Regions from separate parts of the Homo sapiens genome. Here region 1 is linked to region 2. Evidence: promoter capture Hi-C in 16 types of primary human blood cells and fetal thymus (Javierre and others, 2016). All regions are on one chromosome and are shown on one strand. Each heading gives the region's core, a stretch centred on a gene start or on the middle of the fragment in contact. The rest is flanking DNA. Distances are from core to core; before and after follow the strand shown.

Region 1 (4,168 bases), core at 1,523-4,022, 230 kb after region 2:
TGCTTCTTAGAAAAAATATTGTTCTGACTGAGTGGAGAGGAAGGACTGGAGACACCTGAGCCTAGAGGCAGGATTCGTAGTTAGGGGACAGTTATAGTAATCAACTGGAAAAACACTTTCTGTTTATGTAAGTTGTGAACTTTACACATTTATAAAGTAGTCATTAGAAGAACCACACGGGGCCGGGCGCGGTGGCTCACGCCTGTAATCCCAGCACTTCGGGAGGCCGAGGCGGGCGGATCACGAGGTCAGGAGATCAAGACCATCCTGGCTAACACGGTGAAACCCCGTCTCTACTAAAAATACAAAAAATTAGCCAGGCATGGTAGCGGTCACCTGTAGTCCCAGCTACTCGGCAGGCTGAGGCAGGAGAATGGCGTGAACCTGGGCGGCGGAGCTTGCAGTAAGCCGAGATCGCGCCACTGCACTCAAGCCTGGGTGACAGAGCGAGAGTCCATCTCAAAACAAAAAAAAGAAGAAGAACCGCATGGATCACTTTACCTCAGAGCTAAGCTGCTGTTTTATCTTTTAATAGAGCTCCATTTTTTGAATAGGAAAATTAGCTGCTTTCTATGTTAAAAGGAACTGAACACAATTTCAGCTTCTTCATACTAGGTTTGGAATTATCAAGAAAAGCTCCTAAGTTACCCTAGCTAAGCTATTACATAACAGTCTCATTTTTAACTTTCCTTTTCTATTTGAGAAATCTGATTATTTTCATGTTCCTTGGGTTTTACAATATTAATCATTCAGTACCATCTTTATTAATTTTAATAGAATTTACATGGACACCTTGGTTTTAGTGTTAGATAAAAGCAACATATCTTTCCTGGCAATAGGCTGCCAAGCCTCCAGACTTAAATCCCGAGACAGAGGAGAGTATACCTTCCCGCAGCTCCCCCGAAGGACCTGATCCACCAGTTCTTACTGAGGTCAGCAAACAGGATGATCAGCAGCCTTTAGATCTAGAAGGAGTCAAGAGGAAGATGGACCAAGGGAATTACACATCTGTGGTATGTTTCTACAGTGAGCCATCAGAATTTCTAGTGCCAATAAAGCTTCTTTGGACCTTTGGGGCATGAAACTGAGTATAAGTAAATTTAAAAATGAATTGTATTATATTTAGAAATGTCACGTGGCTTTAGATACCTAAAAATGTATGAGTTATTTTAGCTTTGTGTTTCAGAAGAAGGGTTGTGATAGGGAAGATAATGTCTTAAAATAGTTCTTTTATTTGGCTTTCATCTCAGTTTTCTGAAAATTATTTTTATATTAAGAGGAAGCACTAAGAAACTGTTGATGTGGGAAATGCTAATATGAAATTAATTGGTTCTCCCTCCCCTTTTGAGATCAGATCTGAATAATGTGCCTTTCTTTATAAGGTCTTCATTTGTAGATAGATGCCTGTTAATTTTATGATTTTAAGTATGTATAGGAAATGATTATTTATTATCTCATGATCTATATTTGCGATTCTGTTGTTTATTTTTATTTATTTATTTATTTATTTGAGATGGAGTCTCGCTCTGTTACCCAGGCTGGCATGCAGTGACATGATCTCGGCTCACTGCAACCTCTGCCTCCCGTAATCAAGTGATTCTCCTGCCTCAGCCTCCCAAGTAGCTGGGATTACATAAGCATGTGCCACCATGCCTGGCTAATTTTGTATTTTTGGCGGAGATTGGGTTTCACCATGTTGGCTAGGCTGGTCATGAACTCCTGACCTTAAGTGATCCACCCACATCAGCCTCCCAAAGTGCTGGGATTACAGGCGTGAGCCACTGTTTATTTATTTTAATCCAAAATAAAAACTGTGGACCTGCTTGGATAATTTATCATGATACAGCCAATTTGTTTGCATTCTTACCTCATTAGCCTGGCATCTCTTAATTGCCACAGGTTAATCGTGAATTGAATCTCAAAGGTCTCAGCCAAAGAGTATTATACCACATTAAAATAGGGTGTGAGTTTTCTGTTGGATCTCTGTGCTGGATGATTAAGGAGGGAAGAGGAAATGGTTTTCAGAGCACACTGTTTTAAGAATAATTAACATTTTGTTTTTGTATACAGTTGGAGTTCAGTGATGATATTGTGAAGATCATTCAAGCAGCCATTAATTCAGATGGAGGACAGCCAGAAATTAAAAAAGCCAACAGCATGGTCAAGTCCTTCTTCATTCGGGTGAATGATATTACTAATTCATGTTTTTAATGCTTACCTATAAGTAATTACCCTGTGAATACAATGAACTTGTTCTCTTCTACTTTTTGCTTTGTGGTGTGTATAAAACATCTTTGGTTTAATTTGATCCCCTGATTCTTTGAGAGGAACTTGGTGAGGTTGCCAGAGTGGATGGATCTTTCTCTTGGTGGCCTGAAATTATCCTCGTATTAACAGAGAAGCTGGTTTGAAGATTTTTCATGTGGTATCTAAATGAGTGTTTACATATTTACATTTTGTTTGTGTTTTCTTTTAGCAAATGGAACGTGTTTTTCCATGGTTCAGTGTCAAAAAGTCCAGGTTTTGGGAGCCAAATAAAGTATCAAGCAAGTAAGTGAATTTAGCATAACTTTTTTTTCTCCTCATCGGCTAGAAATCTGAGAGTTCTCATATTTCTAGATTGCAGTTTTCCAAAAGGTTTTAATACTAGAAATGAATTGGTTGAAATGCCTTTTCGGTGTGGTTTTGAGGACTACATTTAATGTTTGTTATAAGCAATTGCCTTTTTGTTCTTTACTTTTATATTTGTTTTATTGTAGGGAGCTTGGTTTAATTGTGACAAATGTACAATACATGTGTGGTACAGCCATGTAGCTGGCCTTGTTATAAATGGGTTCTGTTTGACTGATAGTTCAAATGGTGCTTTGTACTGCTCTTGATTTTCCATATGTAACCTTTAATTTTTATTCCAGTAAATTCTTTTGATTTGATTTTATTTATTTATTTATTTTTTTTTTTTTGAGACGGAGTCTCGTTCTGTCACCAGGCTGGAGTGCAGTGACATGATCTCGGCTCACTACAACCTCCGCCTCCCTGGTTCAAGCGATTCTCCTCCCTCAGCCTCCCAAGTAGCTGGGAAAACAGGCGGGCACCACCATGCCCAGCTAATTTTTGTATTTTAATAGAGACTGGGTTTCACCATTTTGGCCAGGATGGTCTTGATCTCTTGACCTGGTGATCCGCCTGCCTCACCCTCCCAAAAGTGCTGGGATTACAGGCATGAGCCACCATGCCCGGCCTCTTTTGAGTTTTTGATAGGGTTATCATTTGTTTCAGCAAGTTTAACCAAGAGTCATATGTTGAGATATTTTTTAAAATATTGAGTTCTGTGTACTTCAGCAATTTTCAAACGCTGTGACTTGTTCTTATATTCTGTGAATGGCTCCTACATGGGGCAACAGGTGATATCAAGAATTTATTTTATACAGTTCTAGGTATACTGTAGGAGTTCAATAAATGCTTGTTGAATCAATTATTTTCAGCAGTGGGATGTTACCAAACGCAGTGCTTCCACCTTCACTTGACCATAATTATGCTCAGTGGCAGGAGCGAGAGGAAAACAGCCACACTGAGCAGCCTCCTTTAATGAAGAAAATCATTCCAGCTCCCAAACCCAAAGGTCCTGGAGAACCAGACTCACCAACTCCTCTGCATCCTCCTACACCACCAATTTTGAGTAAGCCACCAAAAGGAGAGTCGTCACCCATTTCCCTCTAGATGCAGATGATTGACTTCGTGAATCCAATTCACTAAAATTAGATATACTTGGATATCAGAAAGGAATTTTCAGGTCATCCTTAAATGTAATACCATCATTAATTTTGCTTCACTTGAGGTGTTAATGAGGACTTGATATAAATACTCTGGAGTATTGTAACATAGATGATGAGGTAGCGTAACTCTGAACACTTTTTGAAAAGTGGTTATTTTATAGGCTGTGGGCTATGTAAGCTGAATTATTTCTTTTTTCCTTGAAATCAGACATAGTATTGCCAATTTTAACTGGATCTCAAGGTATTGATGGGAGTCTTTTGGATTTCAAGGTACTGATAGGAGTCGAGAAGACAGTCCAGAGCTGAACCCACCCCCAGGCATAGAAGACAATAGACAGTGTGCGTTATGTTTGACTTATGGTGATGACAGTGCTAATGTAAGTACTTTGCAACAC
Region 2 (4,600 bases), core at 711-3,210:
CACAAAAGATTGTCCCTCTCTCTCAGCCTTAACAAAGATTGCCCCTTTCTTTTCTACAAGCTCTCATCCTTTCCAAAACCACTGTTCCCTGCATAACCTACCAGTGTGCACGACGCTGAGCCGGATCTCCCCTATCACCCCATCAACATCAGGTGGGTTCTTCACCTGGCAGGTGTATGTCCCATTGTCGTCGAACTGCAGTTTCCAGAGAAGGATGGAGGCATCGTACCGCTCAGGATTCCCATCCCAAGACACCCGGTCCTTAAACCGCCCACTCATGGGTTGGAAGGGATCTATGTGGTAGTAGAATACCTAGAGAGGGGAAATGGCAAAAGGTCTTCTTACTCAGCACCCAGGCAAGGAGGCCAAGATGGTGGGAGCGGAAGTGAAACACCAGCAAACCCAACTGTCCTGTCTGCAGCTCTGTCACTTGCTTTCCCCTTCAACGGCCTCTCAGTCTCTGTCCCAAGAATTGTTTCCGAGCTTAACCTTGTGCTTGCTGCTAAGAAAAATACTGGAAGGGAAAGGAGAAATGGACTGGCTTATTATTTCCCTAAACAAGAGTACCCTGGAAAATGATGATAATCTACTTACAAACTGCTCAGGTCCCCCGTCTAGAGGACGAAAATTCCAGGTCACTGTTAGAGCATCACCCACAGGGGCAAAGCTGGAGAAAGTGCATTTTAACCGAGCATCTGTCCCATTAACAGCCTCCAGCACCCGGGAGGTATAAATTTCCACAGCTGCTATAGGCCAAAGAGCTGCAATGAAAAAGAAGAAAAAGAAGGGTTAACAGGGGATGTAGTATTGTGAGAACTTCTGCTGACACTTCCAAAATAAATATCTGAGTAGGACTTAAAGTAAAGTGAAACTGAGATGCCCCATCTCCCAAACTTACTTCACCCAGAATCTACATACTCCTACCTGTATGCAGCCTGGACCCTCCCATTCCATGTGACAACTAAACTACCACACAGCAAGCCTTCGCAGTGCTTTTACTTTCTCCACAGCATTAAAGCCTCGCCTCGTGGTACTGACTTCAAAACTGTTATAACAAACTACAAACATCCGCAAATAGAATTGAAAGCATAAACAAAAAATTAAAATGAATCATAACATTGATTAGACATTACATTATGTATTAAGGTTAAGCATTATGTGTTGTATGTAAAGTGGTCTCCTAGCAGGTAAGTTTTCCAGATGGGTCCTTAGGTGGATTTCATACTGTTACTAGTCTATTGCAGAAACTGAATTAATCAACTCCAGACAGCTTATGTTTGCCTGCACCCCTAGAACCTTTGTACCACGTGGCATTTTTTTAAACTTGATATTTACATTTAGAATGTGTGTGTTGGGGCACTTTCAAAATCACAGTAGGTCTCTCTCTAACAATCTCCACTTTCCTGGTGTTGCTGAGAGTCACAGACAAGACCCACACACAGAAATCCAAATGCCAAGTCCTGCCAGCAGTGGGAGGTTGAGAACAGCCACACACAAAAAAATGGCATGTAACCTGAGATTAGAAAGCCCTCTCTGTGCCTGAATCACTGGCAGCTGAACACACCTAAACCTGTTTGTCCGAGAGCAGTTCTCCAAAAACAGTCCACCAACTTTGGTTTCAGTAAAACCCAAAGTAAAACAAACTGTATCTGTGGCTCAGGCTCCCAAACAAAAGTCTTGCAACTTCTAAGACAATTAGCTAACTTTATAGAGTGAGCAGTGAAGGAGGAAACTCTGAGAGAAGCCCGCCGGCTCTTACCTGTGAGCTGTATGCCAAGGAGAAGAAGCACCGCACGAGTAGAGCTCTTGCCATACATGAGGGAAACCCAGCCTTGGCCCCAGAGACCGGACGGGGCAGACCGAGGGCTCCAACACCCTGCCAAGGCCACTCCGGGAGGAGCAAGCACCGCGTTTTCCCAGAGAGAGGAGTTTGAGTTGAGTTCCTCACCTGTGCCTGTGACTCAGCCCGCTCTGCCTGTGCACTTTTCTGAAATGAAAGGTGGGGCCTCAGCTCCCAATGCCCTCCTTCCTTTCCTCTCTCCCGCCCTCTACACGAACGAGCATGAGCACGTCTGCACAAAGGTCCCAAACTCCCGCAGTCCTCTCTTTACTTTCAGTTAATCTGACTGGGCTCTGGCCTCTAGATGGCCTCGGAAACAGCCAGAGGAGGTGGTGCCAGTCTGAAATGTCCCAGACTGTTATGGGTTTGGCCCCCACACGCCCTTTTAAAACAGGCTTTAGGCTTGCCTGGGAAGTGAATGTTGAAACTGTCCTGCAGTGATTCCACTTCTCAAAGCACCACCCCAGGGCCACATTCACTTGGGACTGGATTCGATACAATTTCAAAACGGGAGTCGGAATTCCTTAGGACCCTCTGTGGACAAAAAGCTGATACCCCTGTTACCACAAGGATTCCTGCACTTCTTCTAGTTTGTAGCTTTCCAGGAGACCTGGCAGAAACAACAAATCAAATCTCCATGCTTAACAATCCTTTACCTTTGAAGACTTTAAAAACAAATGAGGACACCATCCCTGCTCATTCACCCTGCCATCCGAGTGCAATCTACAAAGTGCTCTCCTGCTGATTGTTTCATCTCCATTAACGCCCTTGTGAAGCATTCCCATTCTACCAGTGAGGACGCTAAGAACCCGAGGAAGGTAAATGATTTGCCCAAGGTTGCACAGCTACCATGTGGCAAAACCAGAACTTTTCTTAAAAATCTAGCGTTCTTTCCACCAAATAACAGCTAATATGAACAATCAGACATGGGGCTCTCAAGGAAAAGGTTTTCATGATAACTTTGTTGTGCCTCGGATTTCATCTGTCATTTTTTGAATAGCTAAATGACTGAGAAGTCTAAAGAGCTGAGGAATCTAAACGAGAAAAGATGCCTCCTTGTCTGGAAAGAGGGTGGGTCATCTTTACAGATTAATGAAGCGGCACAGAAACATCGGTAGGAGGGGGATGAAGATTACACATGCAGTTAAGAAGTAGGCTGGGCTGGGAATCTAACCCTGAAAAAAGACAGATTGCGTTTATCCCTGGATTAGCAGTCTAGAAACTCTTCAGTCACTCATAAAATCTTCTAGCTGAATCCAGAGCAGAAAGGGTGGCAGGAACAAGAGAAGGCGGCAGGCTGAGTAGAAAAAAATAAAACATCATAAAGAGGGAAGAAAAGAGAAAATTCTACCAAAAGAGAGGAGAATGCAGAAGTGCAGAAAACAGAAAGCAACAGGAGAAAGATGACATGGGCATGGAGCAAAAACAGGTAGACAACCACAAAAATCCATTGTGTTGGAACTCAGAAAGCAGAGGTGGCCCCAAATGCAGACCAGCTGTGTGCTAGTGAAAATCTGTTGCATGGTGAGAGTTTCTGAAAACTGTGTGGCGTCTTTGTCAGATTCTAGTTCAGAAAGGGACCTAAAATCAGTCTGCTGGGGGAACCTTTCAGATGTTGGTGAGGAAGGATAAGATACAGCCTTTCTGGTATGTAGGTCAGAAGAGTTCAGCTCCAGGACCCTGAAAGAAAAAGAGTTAAGGAAACTTGATCTTGGTTGGCTTCCAACTTTGCAGGGAAATACAGCTACAGAGGAAGGAGAGGTAGAGCCAGGATTTTGAAGTCTACAGCAAATTGCAAAAACTGGTGAGAGGTAGAGTTACCAAAGAGCTCAGGGATGCAGTGAAAAGCAACAGGAGAAGAATCAGGGCAGGAAGAACTGAACAAACTGCCTGTTGTCAGGAGCAGAAATCCCTCCCCCAGGTAGCCAAACACCCATGAGCTGGTTGCCAGCCTTGCTCTGAGGGGCAGGAGTTATCCAGATCCCACTTCTCAGCTGAGTTCAAGTTCCTGGCTTAGTGCCTGGCAACGCCCAGTTCCTTCCAGTTAGCAGGAGTGGCTCCACAGTCAACCACTTCACCTCACTGGGCAAGGAAGAGGCCAAGGGTAGAAGGTTAAGAAGAGAAAATGCTAAATAAAAAGGATGTTTGCCCCTCACAGTTTTCTGGACACCAGTCAGCAGGACTTAGACCAAAACTGCAGGCATCTACATAAGGCCTAAGTTATGTTTGTGCCCAGGCAAATGGAAGGAAAGGAAGAGGAGTTCTGGAAATTGAAAAGAAGAAAAGTAAAGTTTTCAGAGACACCATTTTCTTTCTAAACTTTTCCAGAGAAAGATCCTGATTGTCATTTAAAATTGTGACATACCAATAGTTTTTGAAAGAATCTCATCTGTCCCATCCATCTACACATTTCCCAAAAAATGATTTCTAGTGAGTATCTAGACCTTAGCCAGCAGGAGACTCACTGGGGGCTCAGGAGACAGAAGGGACAGTGGGCCTGTATCAATATTTGTAAAAGTTGTCTTTCTCAACCTCCTAGGCAAAAATCTTTTTTTCACCTAAGGTGAAATTAGCATTCTGTGAAGCAAGGAAAACAAATAATTTAGCTCTTAGGGTCATCAAATAAAGCATTCGTTTACTCAAAAGTGTCTGTTCATATGTTTTTACTAGAAAAAATTCAGACATACATAGAATATTTCTACCTGGGAGGAAATAATATAAGATAGGAAGGTGAAGTAAACAAATAATTATCACTTTCTT

What was found. The method cuts DNA at HindIII sites, captures the fragments that hold promoters and counts their contacts. A CHiCAGO score of 5 or more calls a contact.
Region 1: a fragment that was not itself captured here is called in contact with the fragment with the promoter of MPZL2 in region 2 in 2 of 17 cell types (naive CD4 T cells and total CD4 T cells); the score reaches 5.6 in naive CD4 T cells.

Annotation. Positions count from the first base shown.
Region 1 is chr11:118,492,218-118,496,385 of GRCh38, forward strand. KMT2A (lysine methyltransferase 2A) reads left to right here. Exons shown (of 36, transcript NM_001197104.2): 16 at 840-1,013; 17 at 2,071-2,181; 18 at 2,477-2,550; 19 at 3,483-3,676; 20 at 4,044-4,150. Among named protein-coding and RNA genes, the nearest start is that of TTC36, 33 kb to the right of the region's middle. The HindIII fragment of the contact is 3,432 bases long and covers 1,057-4,168 here.
Region 2 is chr11:118,262,337-118,266,936 of GRCh38, forward strand. It overlaps MPZL2 (myelin protein zero like 2), which reads right to left and starts at 1,961. Exons shown (of 6, transcript NM_005797.4): 1 at 1,760-1,961; 2 at 595-761; 3 at 102-312. The coding sequence starts at 1,817. RefSeq lists an enhancer at 1,713-1,762. The HindIII fragment of the contact is 8,608 bases long and covers 1-4,600 here.